Regions from separate parts of the Homo sapiens genome. Here region 2 is linked to region 1. The links are contacts of gene promoters, found by promoter capture Hi-C in blood cells and fetal thymus (Javierre and others, 2016). All regions are on one chromosome and are shown on one strand. Each heading gives the region's core, a stretch centred on a gene start or on the middle of the fragment in contact. The rest is flanking DNA. Distances are from core to core; before and after follow the strand shown.

The links. The method cuts DNA at HindIII sites, captures the fragments that hold promoters and counts their contacts. A CHiCAGO score of 5 or more calls a contact.
Region 2: a fragment that was not itself captured here is called in contact with the fragment with the promoter of LINC02610 in region 1 in 1 of 17 cell types (naive B cells); the score reaches 5.8 in naive B cells.

What each region holds. Positions count from the first base shown.
Region 1 is chr2:238,226,652-238,233,141 of GRCh38, reverse strand. LINC02610 (long intergenic non-protein coding RNA 2610) reads left to right here and starts at 1,465. Exons shown (of 3, transcript NR_026926.1): 1 at 1,465-1,808; 2 at 5,344-5,458. It also overlaps the pseudogene TARDBPP3. The HindIII fragment of the contact is 6,584 bases long and covers 996-6,490 here.
Region 2 is chr2:237,501,910-237,508,395 of GRCh38, reverse strand. All of the region lies in intron 2 of MLPH (melanophilin), which reads right to left. Among named protein-coding and RNA genes, the nearest start is that of MIR6811, 5.8 kb to the left of the region's middle. The HindIII fragment of the contact is 2,964 bases long and covers 3,436-6,399 here.

The sequences.
Region 1 (6,490 bases), core at 216-2,715:
CCTTTAGCTGTTCCTTTTTCTAAAGAAAAATGTCAAAAATACTACTGAATATACTCCACACTGAAGAAACCAATTTTGAAAATTCTTAGTACATATGTATTTTACAATATACTTACCATGAGTTTAGAAAAATTTGAATTCCAACCATTCTATACCAACCAACCACAACCCCACTGTCTACGTTCCCAGCCAGAAGACTTAGAATCCATGCTTGAGCCAAAGCCGCCATTAAAACCACTGCCCGACCCTGCATTGGATGCTGATCCCCAACCAATTGTTGCACCAAAATTAGAACCACTACAAGAGTTATTTCCAGAACCGAAGGCCTGGTTTGGCTCCCTCTGCATGTTGCCTTGGCTTTGGTTATCATCCGATGGGCCTGGCTGCTTCGCTGGCTGGCTAACACACCCATCGTACACCAACTGCTCTGCAGCACTGCCTGGGGGGCAGCCATCATGGCTGGATTAATGCTGAACGCACCAAAGTTTATCCCACCACCCATATTACTACCTTGATTGTTTCCCAAACCAGCTCCACCCCCTCTACTCTTACCAAATCCACCCTGATTCCCAAAGCCACCTGGATTACCACCAAATCTTCCACTTCTTGCTGTCTATTGCTATTGCGCTTGGGTTCGGCATTGGATATGTGAACGCTGATTCCTTTCATCGAGTCCTCTCCACAAAGAGACCGCGCAATCTGATCATCTGCAAATGGAACAAAGGCAAAGGCCCTGAACGGCTTGGGGACGAAGACATCCATCACATCCCCATACTGAGAGAAGAACTCCCACAGCTCATCCTCAGTCATGTCCTCCGTACGGCGCCCCACAAACACTTTTCTGCTTCTCAAAGGCTCATCTTGGCTTTGCCGCACCATAAGAACGTCTCCAAAGGTACTACAGTACTCTTTCAGGTCCTGTTCAGTTGTTTTCCATGGGAGACCCAACACTATTAAATCGGACTGGTCTTTTCACTTTCACTGCTGATGAAGCTTCTGTCTCACCCATTTTTCTTTTGTTATCTTTCGGATAGTTGACAACATACACCGGATTTCTCCAGCCAGCATCGGGGGCATGCAGAATTCCTTCTACCAGCCGGACACCTCTCATACATTGAGACACCGGATTCCTGCAGCGAAGCCCACACGCCCCTGGAAACTGGGCTGTAACCGTGGACAGCAGCACCGTCCCATCGTCTTCCGATGGTATTTCAATGGGCTCATCGTTCTCATCTTCGGTTACCCGAATATATTCAGACATCTTTTACTTTTCCACTAGGCCGCTGCTGGGAAGCCCGACAGGGACACCGAGGCAGCGACGGACCCAAGCGCCAGTGTTTTTTTGTTTGTTTGTTTTTTGTTTTTTTAAAGAGGCCACCACAAGTTGAGGCGGGACTACAACTCCCAGAGGCCGCCGCGGCCCGGAGGCCACGCCCCTTGGCGGCGAGCTCTGAGCCCTTTGCCGCATTTGACACTCGACATCCTCGTGCTTCTTAAAGCACTTGCCCAACGGTGAGCAACGGCCTCCAACGGTGCCCGAGGGACTCGCGCTGCCCGTTAAGCAGCTTTGCGGTGGCGGAGGCTGGGCTGCCGTCTCTCCGACATCCCGGGACGGAGGAAGAGATGAAGGCTCTGCAGCCCCCGCCGCCCGATTTACGCTTGAGAAAGCGAAGGCGAGAGAGGTCGTCCAGCCCCTGGGGGCCCAGCCCTAGAGAGCGGGGCGCGGGCTGCGGGGCCCGGCGGCCTGGACGGCGGAGCGTTGAAAGCTCCCCCAGGGATAGGAAGTGCAGCCGAAATCAACGATTGAGGTCAGTGAAGGAGCGGACGCTTGAGGCCTTGGAGGGGAAGCAGGTTTCTCCAGGAGGGAACCCGGGCCTCCGCTTTGCTCAGCGCTCCCCTCGCGAATGTGTTGAGCACCTGTTATGTGCTGGGGGTACAGAGGTGAGACTCACAAGGCCCCTGCATTGTCTTTAAGATCAGCAAGACCCCGCAGAGAACCCAAATCCAACGCGCACTGCCCAGAGGCAGACACTGGCATTCCTTGATAGACGGTAGCCAGGGAAGCCCAGGTCTTACTAGATTATTATCAGTACTTGGATTTGAATGTATCTGAGAGGAGGAGGGTTAAGGTTTAAGCTGTGGCTCAGAAGCCCCTCAGCTCTTCGTGGAATCTCCCAGGCTTTTCACTCTTGCATCCTCATGGAAAAATACTGCCCTCCCTGGGAAACCATGCTTTCTGTGCACACCTGCTCTGTTCCCATGTCGCTGTACTACCTATTGACCTGTCAATGGATGATGACACTTGGGGTACTATCCTCTCTCCTCCAGATCTTGCCCCACCTTAACCTTGAAAGAATATTAAATGCGCCCTTAGACGTCAGGAACCATCCCTCAAACCTTGCCATTCCTCTCTGTTGAACCTGCTCCAAATCTTAAGTGCCAACCTCCATCTTATCCACTTTATCCTGGGGAACTTGTCCTCACACCCCGTTGAGGTTTCTTACTTATTGTCCTACTGTTTTCTTCACACTCCAGTTTCTTAAAAACAGTCTTCATTCTCATTTTCTTCATTTCCTCATCACCTGTTTGTCCCTAACAAAATTTCAGTATGGCTACATTTCCTGCCATTCTACTATAGAAAACTTCTGCCAGAGTCTCCAATGAACTCCTGATTGCCGAGTAGACTCTTCAGTTTTCTCACCCGAACTTTGCGGCATTTGATACTCAACATCCTCATGCTTCTTAAAACATTGTTCTTGCCAGAGCACGGTGGCTCACACCTGTAATCCCGGCACTTTGGGAGGCTGAGTTAGGCAGATCGCTTGAGCCCAGGAGTTCAAGACCAGCCTGGGCAACATAGCAAGACTCCATCTCTACCAAAAATGCAAAAAATTAGCCAGACATGGTGGCCCGCACCTGTAGTCCCAGCCACTCGAGAGGCTGAGGTGGGAGTATCACTGGAGCCCGGGAAGTCAAGGCTGCGGTGAATTGAGATCACGCCAGTGTGCTCTGGCCTGGACAATGGGAGTGAGACCTTATCTCAAAAAATTGTTCTCTGTCTAGTCTTCTTGCTCTTCTTGTTCCACCATTCCTTCTCAGGTTCTGGCAGTGGCTCTTCACAACTGGATATTAAATGTTGTCTTTTTTTTTTTTTTTTTTGAGACAGGTTCTCACTCTGTCTCAGGCTGGAGGCTGGAGTGCAGTGGTACGATCATGGCTCACTGCAACCTCGACCTCCCAGACTCAAGTGATCCTCCCACCTCAGCCTCCTAAGTAGCTGGGACTATAGGCGCACATCACCATGCCTGGCTGATTTTTGTATTTTTTTTGTAGAGAGAGATGTTTGTAGTGTTGCCCAGGCTGGTCCAGCAATCCACCTGCCTCACTCCCAAAGTGCTGGGGTTATAAGCATGAGCCACCGTGCCCGGCGAATATTGTCTTCTTAAATATTGTGCCCCACATTTCTTTGCTAGGCCCTCTTCTCTAGCTTCTAGGCTGTAATCTGTATGATCTCCATGGCTTCACCTGCTGTGCTACCAGCTGCAAAATCTATTTCCAGCCCAGCCCTCTCTGGAGCTCTCATAGAGTTTATCCAAATGCCCCTGGCTGTCGCCTCTCAGGAATCCCACAGGTTCTGCAACAAGTTCAAATGTGAACTCAGCTTTCCAACAAAACCTGCTCCTCCCTTCATGTTCTGGATCCTTCAGAGCAACAAGGGCATCAATCCTTCAGGCTGGAAACCAGACGGTCCATGGAGACACCTCCCTGGAGCCCTGCCTGGGCAACCTTGACCTCCCAGGTTCCAGGGGACACTGGAGCCCTGCAGGTAGCGTCCAGGAACTGGCAATCCTGCCACTTCAACAGGTTGAACGAACAAGAGGATGAGTCTTAGACGTCCCTTTCCCCCTGTCCGGCTCCTGCATTCGTAGTTCAGGTTCTTGGCTGTCACCTGGAGAATGGCAGTGGTCATTAAGAAAACCCCCACCTTGAAGGTTACGCCCTGAGCTTCAGTCTTTTCAAAAGCCCAACACTGCAGATTCTCAAAGAATAGTAGGCCTGGTCCTCACGTGGGCCAACTCAGAACTTACTGACTGCCTCCACACCCCCTCCACCACCTTCTGTCTCCATGCCCTTGCCAGATATTTGGTTTGCTGCATGGCCAAAGCCGCTGCTCTGCCCTCTGCATGCCTCCAGGTTTGGCTCAGATAGACTGCCTGCCTGAAGCCTTTCCTGGTCACTCCTCGTTTTATGCAGTTTCCAAGGCTTCTTTTATTTCCCTGACGGCATAGTCCAGATAATGTTTGCTTGTTCATTCCACAGTTGTTAACTGGAGGCCTGCTCTTTGTCAGGCATTCTTCTAGTTGCTGGAGACAGACAGCATTTCTTCTCAAGTTTATGCTGTTATGGGCAGTTAGGCTGTTGGGTTGTTGTTGTCTTTTTTTTTTTTTTTTTTTTTTTTTTTGAGACAGAGTTTGTGCTTTGTTGTCCAGGCTGGAGTGCAGTGGCACGATCTCCGCTCACTGCAACTTCCTCCTCCTGGGTTCAAGTAATTCTTCTGCCTCAGCCTCCCAAGTAGCTGGGATTATAGGCGCCCGCCGCCACACCCAGCTAATTTTTGTATTTTTAGTAGAGACGAAGTTTCACCATGTTGGCCAGGCTGGCCTCGAACTCCTGACCTCAGGTGATCCACCTGCCTCAGCCTCCCAAAGTGCTAGGATTACAGGCGTGAGCCACCACGCCCAGCCTGTTGTCTCTTGATCCTTGAATACGCAGTCTCTGTCTTGTCTGTATTCCTGCCTCATATTTTCTCTCTCCTGCCTCTTTATCTCTTAAACCGTTGTCTCTTCATCCACATCATGGGAATGGCAGTAGTACCTACTTGTTTTGAGGGTTGAATGAAATAGCATGGAAAGCCGTTTTCTCAGTGCCTACTGTTGGTTGGAATTCCCTTTCTCTTTGTTTCCACCTCGTTCTCTTTGCGTCTTCATCCTCCCCTGCCTTCATATCCTTCTGTTCCCCATCTCACCAGCTCTCTCTTCCTCTCTCTGGCTCCCTTCCTCTCTCCTCTCTTCCCTGTCTCTCTGCCTCTCTCTGTTTCTTTCATTCTCTCGTCCCTGTTTCTGTCTCTTCCTCCAACCCACTTTTGCTGGGCTTTCCCTGCCTCTGCCCCGCCTTGCCTTCTTTGTCTTTCTCTAGCCTCCCTCTGCCTCTACCTCCCTCTCAGACGAGAGCAGGTGACTCCCCTGATGCTTCCTGCCCCTTCCCTGGTAGTGGGTGTGGAGGGGGTGACTGCCCAGCTTCTGCAGCGCCAGCGACTTCCTCCACCTTGTTCCCGCCCTGCAGGGTCTGAGCACCTCCCTCATGCAGACAGAGCCCCGGCTCCCATGTTCACCATGCTGAGAAAGACCTGCGGGGGACAGCAGGAGGACAGCCGGGGAATGGGCCCGCACTTGCCCAGGTGAGTGCTGTGGGGAGTCAGGCCAGCCCTGTGGAGAAGGCCGCTGGAAAGGGGGAACTGATGCTGCCATTCCTTATAAAAAGGGCCACCCAGTCCATGTAGCTGAGGACCAGCACCAGGCAGGATCTTTAATGGGACTCTGGGCTTTGTTAAAGGGCCACAGGCTTGTTTAGGGAGGTGGGGACAGAGTCAGGAGGGAGAAGTACCACTTCTCCTGGGAGCGGCACATGGCATGGAACAAAATAGCCCTGGGGCACGCCCTGAGCCCAGCCCTAGTTTTCTAGCTAAGGATCAGGTGAGAACCCCCAGACCTCTAGCTCCTCTCAGGAGGCTGGCTGCTGGCTGGTTCCTCTTCCAGAAGTCCGTGCAGATCCTGTCCTCTGGCTTTGCCTTGCCTAAGACCCAGTCTGCACCAAGGCTGAGTCCCTGGACTTCTGGAGAGAGAGGGCTGTCCCTTTGTGCCCTACAAGTACAGTGTGTGGGCGCCTCCCCTGGGCCCTGCACAGGTTCTGTGGCACCGGCAGCATGCGGGAAGGTGGGAGGAGGCACACCCTGCCTTTGGGAAGCTGAGAACAGATCCCTGGGGGCAACCTGTGCCCCTGTAACCAGGAGGAGTCTCAATAGGAAATTTTAGCTGCTCCTGGTGGAGCAGGGCCTCTGTCTTAAGGAGAGTGGAATTTCCGAGGGACAGACATTTCCTGACCATTTGTGTATAGGAATCAAGGCAATGAGAGAACAATCAACAGGGCATGGGAGATGAGAAAAAGGTGAGATGACCTCTGACAGGCAGGCTCCTGAAGGAAGGCTTCCTGGAGGAGGTGGCATGTGAGCCCTGCAGGACAGGTAGAGGTTGGAGGATGAGACAGAGGAGGGGGCCTTGCCTTTCAGACCCCAGGCGCCACCATGCTCCCCATCTTGACTTGGGAATTTCCCAGTGACAGGGCAGGAGTGAAGTGCAGGGCCTTCCCACTGCTGGGAATTTGGCTGTGTTGGCGCGTGGGGTCTGCCCTGGGGCGCGTGCTGCCTTCGCTA
Region 2 (6,486 bases), core at 3,668-6,167, 730 kb after region 1:
TCACACCTGTAATCCCATCACTTTGGGAGGCTGAGGAAGGTGGATCACCTGAGGTAAGGAGTTCAAGACCAGCCTGGCCAACATGGTGAAACCCCGTCTCTACTAAAAATACAAAAATTAGCCAGGCACAGTGGTGGACACCTGTAATCCCTGCTACTCAGGAGGCTGAGGCAGGAGAGTCGCTTGAACCAGGGAAGCAGAGGTTGCAGTGAGCCGAGATTGTGTCACTGCACTCCAGCGTGGGTGACAGAGTGAGATTCTGTCTCAAAAAAAAGAAAAAGAAATGAGAAGAAAAAACAGTTTCATTAAAGAATCACCTTGATGAAACCCTAAAAGTTATGAGTCTTTTTGAACCGTGGCCCCCAGTCCATGTCTTTTGAGGATTCTGCCTGATGAGCTTGGAGGAGGACAGGAAGCTCTTGTGCCACGTGTTGAAGGTGACAGATATTTCTATTAAAAGGATTGGGCAATTGTTCCGATCGCCACCTGAGCTAGAAACTTTTCTTATGAAATAGCATTTTCACTTGAGAGAACAACAGAGAGATGAACTGTTTCGACTTGGGTACTTGGCAGATATTTTCTCAAAAATGAACAAAGTGCGACTCTCACTTCAAGGAAAAGAAGTGACAGTATTTATTGCCAGTAATAAAACGGAAGCTTTCAAGCACAAAGTAGAATTCTGGAAAACATATATCGCCTGCTGTGAGCTTGACAGTTTGCAACACTGGGAGACTTTTGATGAGGGTTTCCAACACCGGGAGACTTTTGATGAGATCGCTGGTGAGAGTAACAGAAGTGGTTCTCTTTTGGTGTGCATATGAAATGTGTCAACATTTGAGAAGTCTGCATCACTCAGTGAGCCGGTGTCTTCCAAATGATTAATGCATGGTGTTACAAAAATCACACAGGGGTAGAAAATCCACTTCAAGTGCAAGAGAGACCAATGGATTTGAACAAACAGAAAAGGAAAAGTTCATTAACATGGTTTCAGATTCCACATCACAACTAACCTTTAAGAAACTACCAACTGGCCGGGCGCAGTGGCTCATGCCTGTAATTCCAGCACTTTGGGAGGCTGAGGCAGGCAGATCACTTGAGGTCAGGAGTTTGAGACTAGCTCGGCCAATGTGGTGAAACCCTGTCTCTACTAAAAATGCAAAAATTAGCCAGACATGGTGGCACGCACCTGTAGTCACAGCTACTTAGGAGGCTGAGGCAGGGGAATCGCTTGAACCTAGGAGGTGGAGGTTGCAGTAAGCCGAGATTACGCTACTGCACTCCATCCAAGGGTGGCAGAGAGAGACTTTGTCTCAAAAAAAAAAAAAAAAAAAAAGAAAAAAAAAAGAAAAAGGAAAAAAACTACCAACTCCAACTGCCGGGTTTTCATGTTGTAACAACACATGATGTTAATTATTGTCTACAAAGGCTATTCAAGTACTCCTTTTTTCAATTATGTATCTGTATGAGCCTAGATTTTCTTCAAATACTACAGCCTAGAAAACATGTTACGACCCACTGAATGCAGAAGCAAGTGGAGAATTCACCCATCTTCTATTGTTCCAGATAAGGGAGGAGACCACCCCTCATATTGTCTTATGCCCAATTTCTGCCTCCAAAGAAAAAAGAAGTAAAAACTAAAAGGCAGAAATGAAATCCACAGGCAGACAGCCCAGCGCCACACCCTGGGCCTGGTAGTTAAAGATCGACCCCTGACCTAATCAGTTATGTTATCTATAGATTACAGACATTGCACGGAAAAGCATTGTGAAAATCCCTGTCCTGTTCTGTTCCATTCTAATTACTGGTGCAGGTGCATGTAGCCCCCAGTCACGTACCCCCTGCTTGCTCAATCGATCATGACCCTCTCACATGAACCCCCTTAGAGTTGTAAGCCCTTAAAAGGGACAGGAATTGCTCACTCGAGGAACTTGGTTTTTGGAGACGTGAGTCTGCCGATGCTCCCAGCTGAATAAAGCCCTTTCCTTCTACAATTCGGTGTCTGAGGAGTTCTTGTCTGTGGCTTGTCCTGCTACACAGACATTAAAGAGATTTGCAAAAGCAGAACAACACCACTCACCTTACTCACACTCTGATTTTGGGAAAATCTCATTTTTTATAAAAACTGTATTTATATTAACATGTAGGGGGTTTACTGTTATTTTTAAATGAGTGAATAAATAAATATTTTTAACTCCCAGTTTTAATTTCTGATGTGGTAAATATTAATAGATATGACCCATATGAATAAAACTCTTTGGGGTTCTCAGTAATTTAGGAAATGTGAAGGGGTCCTGAGGCCCAAAGGTTTGAGAACTGCTGATTTCGAAGTCAAGTTTGCTCTCCCTCCCAGAATGTGGAGAAAAGGGACTAAGCGATGGGAGACAGTGGGGAGATGATGGCAAAGGCCGAGAAAGTGAGCTCCCAGGGGAGACAGAGCCCTGGAGACGGGGATGCATGGGGGTGGAAGGGAAGTGCTGTCCTTGTCCTTGGGGCAGGGGACCCACATTACTGTCCTCTGCAGTCCCACCTCCAGAGGGCCCTGGGACACGCATGCCAGAGCTGTGACTGGTGGGGCAGAACAGAGCCAAGGGGGCACTCCTGTCCTCAAGGGAGGCCCGGCAGCCTCTGAAGAAAGGGCGTATACCAGGGAAGGAAAACGCTTCTAGGACGGGAACAGGAAGGAAAGGCCGCTCCTATGATGGGGTCTGGACAGGATTGGTGAGCCACGCAGGGTGAAGGGGTCAGACCTGTGCCCTGCTCTGCCCCTCTTGGGGTGAAATCTAGACAGGGGTGTGGTGGCAACATGCAGGAATACTGGGGAGAGCCCAGGATGGCGGGGCTGGTGGCCACCCCTGAAGGCACAGCAGGGGGAAGCTCCCACTGTGGCCATCCCCAAGGTCCAGCACACAGGCGGGGGAAGAGCCTGCATGAGGGGTCCTGTGGGCCTCCACTTGCGTTGGGTGCTGGGGTGGTGGGGAATCCACATCCCTGTGATCCTTAAACCATGCTCCAGCAGGACTGCATGCGATGAGGAGCAGCCAGGGGACTGGCAGAGGCTTGGGGTTGGTGGAAGAGGCCACAGCACGTGGGTATGTGGCTGGGATCAGGGTCTCAGTGGTGGGTGCCATCCGTATCTCAGTGCCCGGCCAGTACCCTTCACATACCAGCCAGCGGTCCCCATCCTGCAAGCTGACCTGCCCTCCACTCTGCATCAGGACCAGCAAGGAGGTGGGGACAGTGTGTGGAGTCCAGACCCCATCAACCTGGCCACCGGGAGGGTCATGAGCCTTTCTCCCAAGGCCCAGCTGCTGGCCTGGCCAAAAGCATGGGTTGGGGAGCAGAGGTGGGGTTGTGGGGAGCTCTGGAAGAGAAGCTGAGCCAGGAACAGAGACCCGGTAAGTGAGCAGAGTCTGGGAGATCTGAAGCCCTGAAGCTTGCACTGTCTTGCTGCTCAAGGGGTGGGGTCTCACGAGGGGGAGCAGATGGGAAATAAAAGACCTGTATTTCCTTTGCACGGCTTGGTTGGGTGAAGTTTTCGACCATGAGTTTTTGCCATGCCACTGAGGCAGCCGTCACCCTAACAACACAGGAAAACTCTCCTAACCAGAGAGAAGAAACAAAGAAAGAGCTGAGTCTTCAGATTAGAGGGGTCGCTGGATGGTAGGAGATGCCTACACAGACTGACAAGACCACTCTGTTATAGGGCGGGCAAAATCCCTACCAGCATGGTGGACAGAACCGGCGGCCTCCAACAGAGTGGAGGTCATGCAGGGGGCCCTTCTGCAAGGCTGAGGGCTGGCCGTGGGGCAGTGGCTCCCGTCCAACTGCTGCCATTTCAGAGCTCCACCAACTCCATGGCTTAAAACAATGCAAATGCTGGTCAGTTGCGGTGGCTCACACCTGTAATCCCAGCACTTTGGGAGGCCAAGGTGGGTGGATCACCTGAGGTCAGGAGTTCGAGACCAGCCTGGCCAACATGGTGAATCCCCATCTCTACTAAAAATACAAAAAATCAGCCCCGTGTGGTGGTGGGCACCTGTAATCCCAGCTACTTGGGAGGCTGAGACAGGAGAATCGCTTAAACCCAGGAGGTGGAGGTTGCAGTGAGCTGAGATTGCGCCACTGCACTCCAGCCTGGGCAGTAAGAGCAAAACTCCACCTCAAAAAACAAAATAAAATAAAATAAACACAATACAAAAACAATGCAAATGCATTACCTGACAGCTCTGGAGGGCAGAAGTTTGACTCAGGATTCATTGAGCTAACATCAAGGTGTCGGCAGGATTGTGGCACCTCCTGGAGCCCCCAGAGGGGAATCTGCTCTCTGGCAGTTTAGCTTCTTGAGGGCTTCAGGTATGTGGGCTCCTGGCCCCTTTCTCCATCTTCAAAACCAGCCATCCCTTCTGCTTCTAAGGCCCCTGTGATGATATTAGGCCCGCCCAGGGAACCCGGGATCATCTCCCAGGTCCAGGCCAGCAGGTGGGCAGCCTAAAATGCATAATCCCATTTCTGTATAGCCTCACGAATTCAGAGGTTCTTGGGGTTGGGAAGTAGACATCTTTTTGGGGGGGATTATTCTGCTTACCACCGGTAAGCATCCCCACAGCCTGTAGGGGAAAGCGTGTGAGGTCAGATTGTACTCCCAGGCAAGTGGAACAGATCCTCAAAGACAAAATCCACACTCCATGCCATGCCTGAGAAAACAGCCTGAGGACAGACCCCAGGTAATGGAGAAATGATTCCTGAGGGTGACCCTGAGTTGGGGACTGGAGCACAAAAGATCCAGTGAGTCACAGGATCCAGGGGCCAAATGACTGAAAGCGTGGCAACCAAAGTAAACCTCACGTCAGGGCTAACGGCTGGCAGAGGACGGAAAGACGGCAGCATTGCTGAGGAGCAGCACCGGGGACCCAGGCTCCTCATCCTGGGAACGCGTGTCGGGAATTACCACGAGGGAGCTGGAAACTCACTCAAGTTCCTGGAGATCCTCTAAAGGGGAAGACCAAGATGACGATAAAAAAGATGAAGAGGAAGTGAGTGGTGATGTGAGAACGGCAGGCGCTGAGAGACGGAGCCTCAGAGTATCTCCTAAAACATCTCAGACCAATGTTCCCCTCCAGGCCCTGCCTTGGCAGCGGAGTCCCTGTTTTAGCCCCTATTTTTTTCATCTCTAGAGTTGCCTGTGTCCGTGATTCCAACTAGTCCGGCTAAGGGTGATTTCAAATTCCTTATGATCAAAAAAATGGATTTTTATTATTTATTTATGTATTTATTTTTGAGATGGAATTTCGCTCTGCTGCCCAGGCTGGACTGAAGTGGTGTGATCTTGGCTGACTGCAACCTTTGCCCCCCGGGTTCAAGCGATTCTCCTGCCTCAGCCTCCTGAGTAGCTGAGACAACAGGCGCCTGCCATCATGGCTGGCTAATTTTTGTATTTTTAGTAGAGATGGGGTTTCGCCATGCTGACCAGGCTGGTCTCGAACTCCTGACCTCAGGTGAACCACCTGCCTCGGCCTCCCAAAGTGCTAGGGTTACAGGCATCAGTCACCGAGCCTGGTCAAAAAAAAATTTTTTTTAAAGCAAGCCACGGTTTGCCCGTGTCTCATACTAGGAGACCCTTCACAGATTCTCTCTGAACCTCCTCTGTTTGCAGAGATCACAAATCCACGTCACCACCTATTTGCCTTTCCAGGGCAGGTTGGCAGTCCTAATATTTGATTTGTAGGCTGTGTCCTTTAAAACAGGGTGTTCCGTTTGGGCTTCAGCCTTTCCCCCAGGGCATGAGTCACCCAAGTCCGGCTATGCATGGTCTCCTAGTTCTTCCTGGGTTTGGAGAATATCCATTAATTTCTACCATAACCACAGCTGAGGGGCTACCCTAACAAATGCAGAAAGCAGTTACTGGGAGAACTTGACACAAGCATGATACAAAGCAAGACACAAATCAGCACCAATGCAAGCTCCAGGGTGCCCAGGAGGAGGCCTGCTCCTTTTGTGCACAGCCCCAGGTCCCTTGGGTCCAGGACAGGGATGGGTGCCTAAGAAGTTCTGGGCTCTTCTGGGGACAGAAGGAGTTAAAAGCTGTGACTATTAACCAATGTTCCCTTCAAGAAGGTTTACTTTGGCCCTACTTTGTATTTGTAGAACATTAAAAAATAATAACATGTGATAATCTTTTCTGTACTTAAAACCTTCTTAATACCCAAGTGATATGAATGAATCTAAAACACTCAAGATGAGAGCACTCTGAGGACCACTTCTATGGAACTCACCACCAGATTACAGGAAAACAGGGACAATGGAACTTTGGTGCAAACATCACGAGGATATCCTCAGCTAACTCCAGACTGTGAAAAATTCCACAAAAGTAAACAGCTAGCTTTCTTCTACACATAAGCTTCAAATTAAAAAAACAGAGCTGAAAAGAGATCTTACAGATTCAAAGAGACTTAAAAGATACAGCAAGCAAGTGTAAGGTCTGGACAT